Regions from separate parts of the Homo sapiens genome. Here region 2 is linked to region 1. The links are contacts of gene promoters, found by promoter capture Hi-C in blood cells and fetal thymus (Javierre and others, 2016). All regions are on one chromosome and are shown on one strand. The core of a region is centred on a gene start or on the middle of the fragment in contact, and the rest is flanking DNA. Distances in the headings are between cores, read along the strand shown. Region 1 holds the start of RAMAC (RNA guanine-7 methyltransferase activating subunit). Region 2 holds the start of EFL1 (elongation factor like GTPase 1).

Region 1 (4,600 bases), core at 1,105-3,604:
TGCAGGGATTACAGGAGTAAGCCACCGCACCCAGCTCCTTCCCTGATTTCTACCAATCTTTTTCTCTCGTAATCCACTCAGTAACTAAGTATAGTACTATTTACTATTTAGCGCACTATAGCGCGCTAACCAATTGCACTACTGGAGCTCCAGAATAGTACTATTCAATTATTATTATTATTTTTTTTTTTTTTTGAGACGGAGTCTTGCTCTGTCACCCAGGCTGGAGTGCAGTGGCGCAATCTCTGCTCACTGCAAGCTCCGCCTCCTGGGTTCACGCCATTCTCCTGCCTCAGCCTCCCGAGTAGCTAGGACTACAGGCGCCGGCCACCACGCCCAGCTAATTTTATGTATACTTAGTAGAGACAGGGTTTCACCGTGTTAGCCAGGATGGTCTTGATCTCCTGACCTCATGATCCACCCGCCTCGACCTCCCAAAGTGCTGGGATTACAGGCGTGAGCCACCGCACCCGGCCTTTTATTCAATTATTGTAACCTTGGTTGTTACACCTCTTACCTTTACTACCCAACACCAAGACTATCCTATTCCCTCATCCATACTATCCTATATACTTTTGCTAGGTTAATGTTTCTAAAACATTACTTGGAATATTCATAGTTCTATCATTCATTCCACAAACATTTATTCAGTGCTAACGTCATGGAAAAAGCACAATGTGGGGCTGGGCTCCACGGCTCAGGCCTGTAATCCCAGCCCTTTGGGAGGCTGAGGTGGGTGGACTGCTTGAGCCCAGAGTTCGAGACCAGACTGGGCAATACTGCAAAATTCCATCTCTACAAAAAATACAAAAAATTAGCAGGGTGGTGGTGTGCACCTGTAGTCCCAGCTCTCCGGAGGCTGAGCTGAGAGGATCGCCTGAGCCCAGGAAGTCGAGGCTGCAGTATGCCATGACCACGTCACTGCACTCCAGCCTGGGCAACAGAATGAGACCCTGTGTCAAAGAAACAAACAAACAAACAAACAAAAAAAGCACAATGTTATACACTCCAGAATGTAGAAATGCATTAGATAAAGGCCTGTTTACAGTTTAATAGGGGGAAAGACTTGCAAGTAAATAATTTTAGTTCGAAGTTAGAAAGTGGTAATAACTAAATACATGAAATTCCAGAAATATGATGGACTCTCAATAGAAAGAAAAATTATTTCTAGGTAGAGATGTCACTTTCTAAAGCTTTAAATAATGGAAAGAATTTCAACATTTGGAGATGAGGGGGAGAGACAGGTATTTCATGCAAGGGACATGAGCAATCTATAAAAATGTAATAATTTATGCATGACGTACTTCACAGGGTCTGGTTTACCACTGACTGAGGGAGAATGGAAGGGGAACAGCAGAAAATAAAAAAAGTTTTGAATCCAAGTTAATAAACTTGACCTTTAATCTACAGGCAACAGAGAGCCATTGGATCAGCTATTTTGGATCACGGTGGTGCTTGAAGATGGCTACACCTATAGCAGGTATATGTAAGATAGGCTAGTAGCAGAGTGATGCTAGAGGCAGGACATCAATGAGAAAGGTACTGCACTGACACCGTGCAGGGGATGGTAATGAGAACGTTGATTAGGTGGGGGCAGTGGGTAAGAAGATGCAAGAATTACTGTAGGGGTACAATCGACAGGACTTGGCAAGTGATTGGAGCATGGAAAGGCAAGAAAGGGCATCAAATCTGACATCAAAGTTTCCAAGTTGGTTGTATTAACAAAAACGGGTGCATAGCCTGGGAAGTAATTTGGGAGGGAAGAGGCCAAGCTTTGTCGGGATATTAAGTGTTTATACATTTGCTGAACATCCCACAAGACATGGGCAAGACTCTTGGAAGTAGCTGGATACTGACGACTGAAGCTGGAGCAGAGAGGGGGTATGTTTCTGCAAAACCACATACAAAACGGACTACGGAAATCTTACTACCGAGGCTTGCCCAGGCAGGAGAGAAAGGTGTAGCATCCCTGAAGTCATCAGTCGTGTCTACTCTTCACCGCCTGCTCTCACCTCACGTTCCCCACGAAGACTCCGGGAGCAGGCGGCCGGAAGGAGCCCTTCCCTCCCTTCTCCGGTGATTCCCAGAACTTCCGTCTCTACCCGTCACCTGCTCCCAATCAAAGGAGCTTAATAGACGGCGACGTTTTCGACTGCCCAGCCACCAGGCAGGCTGAAAGTGCATGGAGGGCATCATCCACCTTTAGACAGCTACTTGCCCACACCTCATCGAGCTCTGGGCGTTGTGCCAGCATTTGAAGAAGCGATCTGTTGCAAAGCGATCCACACGGAGAGCCTTAGTTATCGCGAGACTTGACAGGCACCCTCAACTTTAGCCCGCCGGAAGCGGAAGTCAGGTGGTTGTCGGATTTTAGAGGAAGGCGCTCGGTTACATTGGAGAACTGGAGTGGTCTGGAGTTCCACGGTGTAGTGGACCAGAGGCCACCTCTCCTGGGCTTCTCAGTGTCTCGCCGGCGGGGTTCGGCCTGAGCTGGATTGACATAGCCCTTGGCGGGTGAGTCGCCCCGGACGCCCGGGAGGAGGGAGCGGGGCGGCCGAGCTGGGTGGCCAGCGAGGTGTCCTCCCCCTGTGCGGTGATCTGTACTCTTTGCTAGACCGAAGCCCGTTTACTTCTCACGGCCCATAATTTCCCTCACTTCTGGAGGTATAAGGTGCTTCGGAAGGGAGCAAATCTGCCAGAACCTTGGTAAGCAAGCTGTGATGTGCCTTGAGGACGGACTGGAAAACGCAGTTGTTTTCAGTCTGCATCTTCGTCTGTTCCCCGGGCTCACCTCCCAGGGCAGCGAAACCCCATTCTGGTTGGTTATTTCCAGGGTTAGTCGCCCGCAGCCAAAGTTCTTTGTGGTTTTATTTGTGGTGAATAAATTAGCAGTATTCAAGTACAAATCTGAAAGGCTTACCCTAAAAGAACATACATACTTTATGAAGTTTGTATTCATACTTGAACTATTTTGCTTTTGAAGGCCCAGAGGACAAATCTTGTAGCTTCTTGCTCTTGAGAACCAGTTCCCTCTTTGGAATATTAGCTTTGGAAGTCTTTAGAGCGTTTTTTTGGTTTGTTTTTTGTTTTTTTTTTGAGACGGAGTCTCGCTCTGTCGCCCAGGCTGGAGTGCAGTGGCGCGATCTCCGCCTCCCAAGTTCAAGCGATTCTCCTGCCTCAGCCTCCCGAGTAGCTGGGACTACAGGCACATGCCACCACGCCTGGCTAATTTTTTCTATTTTTAGGAGAGACGAGGTTTCACCGTGTTAGCCAGGCTGGTCTCGATCTCTTGACTTCGTGATCTGCCCGCCTCGGCCTCCCAAAGTGTTGGGATTACAGAGGTGAGCCACCGCGCCTGGCCTTAGAGCACTTTTACTCCAATTCTTTCCTTGAATAAGACTCTTATGCGCCACCCTCCCCTACAAACACCTTTTGAGAGTTTCCTTAAATAAAGTCAAGTTTGTTTTTTTCCTCCCACAGATTTAAACAACCTAAACATTAAGCAGTACAGCTGCCTCAAACCTTTGGGGTAAGTAAAGCTTGGGTCGATTAACATTCTATTTAAATTTCGTTCTCAGTAATAATACAGTTGATATTTGTTTACATGAGTATGGGTGGGGAGTCGTGGGAGAACATATGAGAACATAAAAATGGAGTAGCACCTTTTCCTTGCCTTATGATTTTTACTGCCCATCTGGATTAGGTATGGGTCATCTTTTTAGTGATTTCTGTGATCCCACTAGAATTCTAGACATGATTTTTAATTAGCTGAATTTATTTAAAACTCATTCCTTGGATTTGAGAATTTGATATAGTTTGCCAATCCCAGACACATTGAAAGTCTGATATTTGGTATTTGATAAAGCATACTAAGAGCAATAGCCTGAAAGATAAGAGTGTCAGGCTGGGCGCGGTGGCTTATGCCTGTTATCCCAGTACTTTGGGAGGCTGAGGCAGGCAGATCACCTGAGGTCAGGAGTTCAAGATCAGCCTGGCCAACATGATGAAACCCTGTCTCTACTAAAAATACAAAAATTAGCGAGCGGGCGTGCACCTGTAATCCCAGCTATTCGGGAGGCAGAGACAGGAGAATCACTTGAATTCGAGAGGCAGAGATTGCAGTGAGCCGAGATCGCGCCATTGCACTCTAGCCTGGGCAACAAGAGTGAAACTCCGTCTCAAAAAAAAAAAAAAAAAAAGGCTGGGCGCAGTGGCTCATACCTGTAATCCCAGGACTTTGGGAGGCCAAAGCGGGCGGATTATGAGGTCAGGAGTTCAAGACCCGCCTGGCCAACAAAACCCCATCTCTACTAAAAATGCAAAAATTAGCTGGGTGTGGTGGCGCGTGCCTGTAATCCCAGCTACTTGGGAGGCTGAGGCAGGAGAATTGCTTGAACCTGGGAGGCAGAGGTTGCAGTGTGCTGAGATCGCGCCATTGCACTCCAACTCTGGGTGACAGAGCAAGACTCCGTCTGGGGGAAAAGGAAAAAGAAAAAATCTACATATTGTTTCTTGCAATGCAACAATAATTTCCGTTTAATTTTGTTGGGGTTAAAGTAGGTAGTATAAATGTTACAAATATTTGCATATGTTTGGAGGA
Region 2 (4,480 bases), core at 1,981-4,480, 720 kb before region 1:
AAGCAGGAACTTTGCTTTATTCACAGCAGTATCCCTAGGACCAGAACAACGCTTGTCATATAGAAGACCTTCAGAAAATACTTGTTGAATGGATGAATCCCAGGTTTTTTAGGATAGTAGCAGCTTAACATAATTTTAAACAATACATTTAAAGTAATTTGTTACACCCCACTAACTTTCCACTTGAATAAATTCATAAAGAAAAAAAAAACCCTTTTATCAGCCTTCACATTCTCAAAATGTGAGCAGTAAAATTATAAAAACTCATGGAGGCAGGGGTTACTCACTGGATTTGTACTAAAACTCATTCACAGCTGGCTTCACTTGTAAGTGATCCACTATCTGTCTTTCTGTCAGTTTCCATACTCACATTACTTCAGCTCTTCTATCAATGACAACAGCCACCTAATCTCTGACTTTGGATCCATCCTAAGCATGTCTACCAATCTAATCTTTCTCATGTTTTATTTGATTACATCATTCCTGCTCCATGTTTTCCCCCAAAGGCTCCCTACTGCCTAATAGTAGACATTAATGATCGTTTTCATGGTGAAGCGTTTACCTTCCCTCTCATTATTATCACATTTAATCCTATAGCCTATAAAGCAGGTATAGTTTTCATCCTGTTTTACAGATGCTGTATATTGAAGCTCAAAAAGGCAAGGTATGTAACTTGAAAATGGAGATCTGAACTTAGGTTGTCTAACTCCAGAGCTGGAGCACTCAACTCTTATCCCAGTTCCTAGCTGGCATGAGCAGCTCTATGAGATATGACTCAGCCTGCTTCTTCACCTCGCCAACTGGTCCTTCATCTTCAGGATGGTAAATATGTTTTATTTCATATGCCCATCCCAATCACTTTGCTGTGGTTACCTAAACTACCAAGAGGTTTGAAATCAAGAGGAGGCTTAGCATGAAGGAGCGCTATGGAGTTACAGCAGTATCTGTCAGAAGAACATACCATGGGTTAGCTATCTCTGCCTTTCCCATATACTGGGCTTTGACCACATATATTTCCCTCTCCCCTTGATGACACATTCCCACCTGTAATGATTATCTCCATTTGTCATCTTGAGCCCCCTTCAAGTGTCATCTCTAATACTAATTATGTTGTGAGGTCTTTTCCTAACCCCTCACTTCCTAATCCTCTAGTTCTCCCAACCTTAGAGTCTACTTTTTTCTCTTGTTTGTCTCATTTTGCTCTGCTCCCCGTTAAAACCTCCCCTGGGCTAGTGCCCTACTCATAAATCTCCACCTTCAGACATACTAAGCAAAATATCTTGAACTTAACAGACGTTTGATAAATATCTGATGAATTAAATAGGATCACATACCACAGACTCTAAGGACATTATGTCAAGACTACAGACATTTTATATGTAAAGCCATTTCAAAAACAAAAAATTCAAGTTCTGCTTTAAAAAACAACATGACATAATATATAGAAGAATGCTACTCACTAGGTAACCGTGTTCATTTCAAATGCTTTATAGCAAAGCAGGCTTCCCTAACATCACACAAAACTTTTAAAGAAAGAAGACTTGCTTCTTAGCAAACATCACTCTCAGCTGTCCACAGCTTCACTCCACTGAGACATACAGAGACACATCTCCCTTATTTATCAAAATAAGCCATTTAAAAAGTATTCTTACCATGGTCAACATGAGCCAAAACACAAATATTCCTGATGTTGGCAGTGTTTTTCTGGAGTTGAATCATCTTATCCAAACTGTTGAGCACCATGATTACTTATTTCCTGTGACTAAAAATTAAATATGTATTACAAATGGCCCAGAGGCTAAAGGTCGGGGCAAAAGAAAAAAATAATAATAAACGCTGGGAGGTGGCAAGCTTCTCAAACCCCTTAAACCAAGAACCCAGTGAATGTTTATTGATGAGATAGACCACCAAGGCCTAAGTCCAGTTCGAGCACTAAAGTCAGTATCCTACCACGATTACACTTAAGGAGTTTGCTCATCCTTCCGGATCCAAAGGCTGCGATGAATCACGCAGCTCGAGGGGACTGGGTGCACAGTGACACCAGTAACCCTGCCGGTGGAGGAGTACTCCAGTAAACATCTCCAGGCCAATGACCACGTACAGGAAGGGTTGCATCCAGGAGGGAGAGAAAATGCTGAAGAAGATGCTCCCTTTCTCTCTTCAGTCTTCCCCCAAGTCCCTCATTCTGACATTCTCGCTCGTCCTCGCGCGAGGTCAAATACCCAGCTTTATTCCTGCCCATGGAGCCCGAACAAAGTTTTGGGTCACGTGCTTATTATCCAAGCAGGTGCACTGCCGGTCTTTCATTCCTTTCTAAATAAAAAGGAAAAACCTCTACACTACATGCCCTTCATTTCTGCAGGGTCCCAGATTCGTTCTCTTTGAGGATCCTGGGTCCACACAGACAGGCGACCGCCCCGGCCCCAGACGGGAAGCGGCACTCCGGGGACCGAAGCTCCCAGCCCGCGCTCGGCCCCAGCCCCTGTTCCCGCCTCAGAGCCGCAGCGAGCGGGTTCCTCCGGCACCGCCCAAAGGCTGGCCTAGGAGGTTCCAGCCCCCAGCGCCAGCCCACACTCACCGGCTGCAGCAGCCCCACCAGCCCCGCTCCTTCTCTCGGGTCGCACCCACACCGAGAGCTTCCGAAAGTCCGAGAGCTCTGCGGGTCCGACACGCCCGCGCGCCAGGGGGCGGGGCCGGCTGTCGCTCGACCTTTCACCCGCACGTCTCTGACGCCGCCGGAAGCCGGCGCCGAGTCTGTCACCGGGCATCCCTCTGTTGCCTTGACTACGGCGGGCGCTGTGGGAGTGGAGAAGCTGCAAGTGCTGAGGCGCGGTGGAGGAAAGCATGGGAGCCAAGAGTATGAGGAGCTGGTGTCTGTGTCAGATTTGTAGCTGCGGGTAAGAAACGGCTGGTGTAGCGGCGGGCCCGGGCTTGGGAGCCGACCTAGGGCCTAGGTGCACGGAGCCGGCTCCTCGGGAACCCTGAGAGTGGCCGTCCCCCGGAGATGAAGGGACGAGGGCGCAGCGACATCCCCACTTATCCCGCTCCGCGAATACTCGCTCCTCACCCGCCTGCTACCCGGGGGTAAAACGTTTGTTCGTAGCCCCTGAGACTCCCAATCAAGGATGCAAAGTAAAATGCCACCCGGGCCAGGTAAGTAATATATGTGAAGCCGCGACGGGATATAACGCTGGTGAGTAGTGGGATGTGATCCGACTGGGAGAGTGCATTTCCACCCCATAATCCCCCACCACGAAGATGAGAAAGAACAGTGCTCAAGGCCCTGAGTCTGCAACCCATATCACATTTTCTTTCATCTGTAGCTTTCTGTCCTCCCAGCCAGACCATATTCCCATTCCCGTCCAGGCAGCAGTTCTTTGGGATCCGCCTGACTGAAAAGTCAGTAAGTAGTCCCTACCCTGAAATCTAGAATCCAACTGTGAGTCCTGCCTAACAACCTTCCATCACCTGTAAACACAGTCCTCTCCTTCCTCAGCTTCACTATTGACCCAGGGATTAGATCATTATTTGCTAAGTAAATATGAACGTTGTCAATCCCTGGTGTATTTGTAATCCCATTCAAAGAAAACACCTACATGTTGATGGAAAGCAGTTTTTTTAATAGTCTCATAATAAACACAGTTCATAATTATATATAGATTAAAATATCAACAAATTAACTTTGGGTGTATGAATCCTCAGACTGGTGTGCAGGAGAAAATTTTTACTTTTCTCCTAATTTATATTCAACGCAAGTTCCTTTCTCATTCAACTGTAAGGAAATTCAGTCTTCATTATGTTGAGGGCCACCATTGGAATGGCGTGATTTTACTTCTTGTTTGTTTGTTTTGGGCTGTGGTTGTTAGTTTTGTCTTTTTAAGGGTTTATTTTTATTTTTTGACAATGCAATAAATACACAAGAAGTATCATAAAAATCTAAGCAAAAATATCTATAATATTGTAAAACGCCTTCATAATTCTATCTTCCACAGATAACAAATGTTCTTTAAGACTTGTTTTACATATGCATTGATTTTTTTTTTTTTTTTTTTTTGAGACAGAGTCTGGCTCTCTTGCCAGGCTGGAGTGCAGTGGCGCAATCTCGGCTCACTGCAATCTCCGCCTCCCGGGTTCAAGCAATTCTCCTGCCTCAGCCTCTCTGAGTAGCTGGGATTACAGGCTCGTGCGACCACACCCAGCTAATTTTTGTATTTTTAGTAGAGACGGGGTTTCACCATGTTGGCCTCCATCTCCTGACCTCATGATCTGCCTGCCTCGGCTTCCCAAAGTGCTGGGATTACAGGCGTGAGCCACTGCGCCTGGCCTGCATTGATTTTTTTTTTTTTTTAACAAAAAAAGAGAATATTCTGAGCATACTATTCTACAATCCGGTTTTTTACTATTTACAATCTCACCAACTTCCAATGATCATGCATAAAGACCACCCTCATTCTCTTAAATAACTGTATACTATTAGCTT

The links. The method cuts DNA at HindIII sites, captures the fragments that hold promoters and counts their contacts. A CHiCAGO score of 5 or more calls a contact.
Region 2: a fragment that was not itself captured here is called in contact with the fragment with the promoter of RAMAC in region 1 in 2 of 17 cell types (naive CD8 T cells and total CD8 T cells); the score reaches 6.8 in naive CD8 T cells.

The regions. Positions count from the first base shown.
Region 1 is chr15:82,983,856-82,988,455 of GRCh38, forward strand. RAMAC (RNA guanine-7 methyltransferase activating subunit) reads left to right here and starts at 2,355. Exons shown (of 4, transcript NM_031452.4): 1 at 2,355-2,514; 2 at 3,481-3,529. It also overlaps a transcript of HOMER2 not described here. The HindIII fragment of the contact is 1,767 bases long and covers 1,771-3,537 here.
Region 2 is chr15:82,260,036-82,264,515 of GRCh38, forward strand. It overlaps EFL1 (elongation factor like GTPase 1), which reads right to left and starts at 2,699. Exons shown (of 20, transcript NM_024580.6): 1 at 2,579-2,699; 2 at 1,653-1,762. The coding sequence starts at 1,743. SAXO2 (stabilizer of axonemal microtubules 2) reads left to right here and starts at 2,783. Exons shown (of 4, transcript NM_001348699.2): 1 at 2,783-2,897. The coding sequence starts at 2,845. RefSeq lists a silencer at 629-815 and enhancers at 2,824-2,913, 2,934-3,003. The HindIII fragment of the contact is 2,763 bases long and covers 1,850-4,480 here.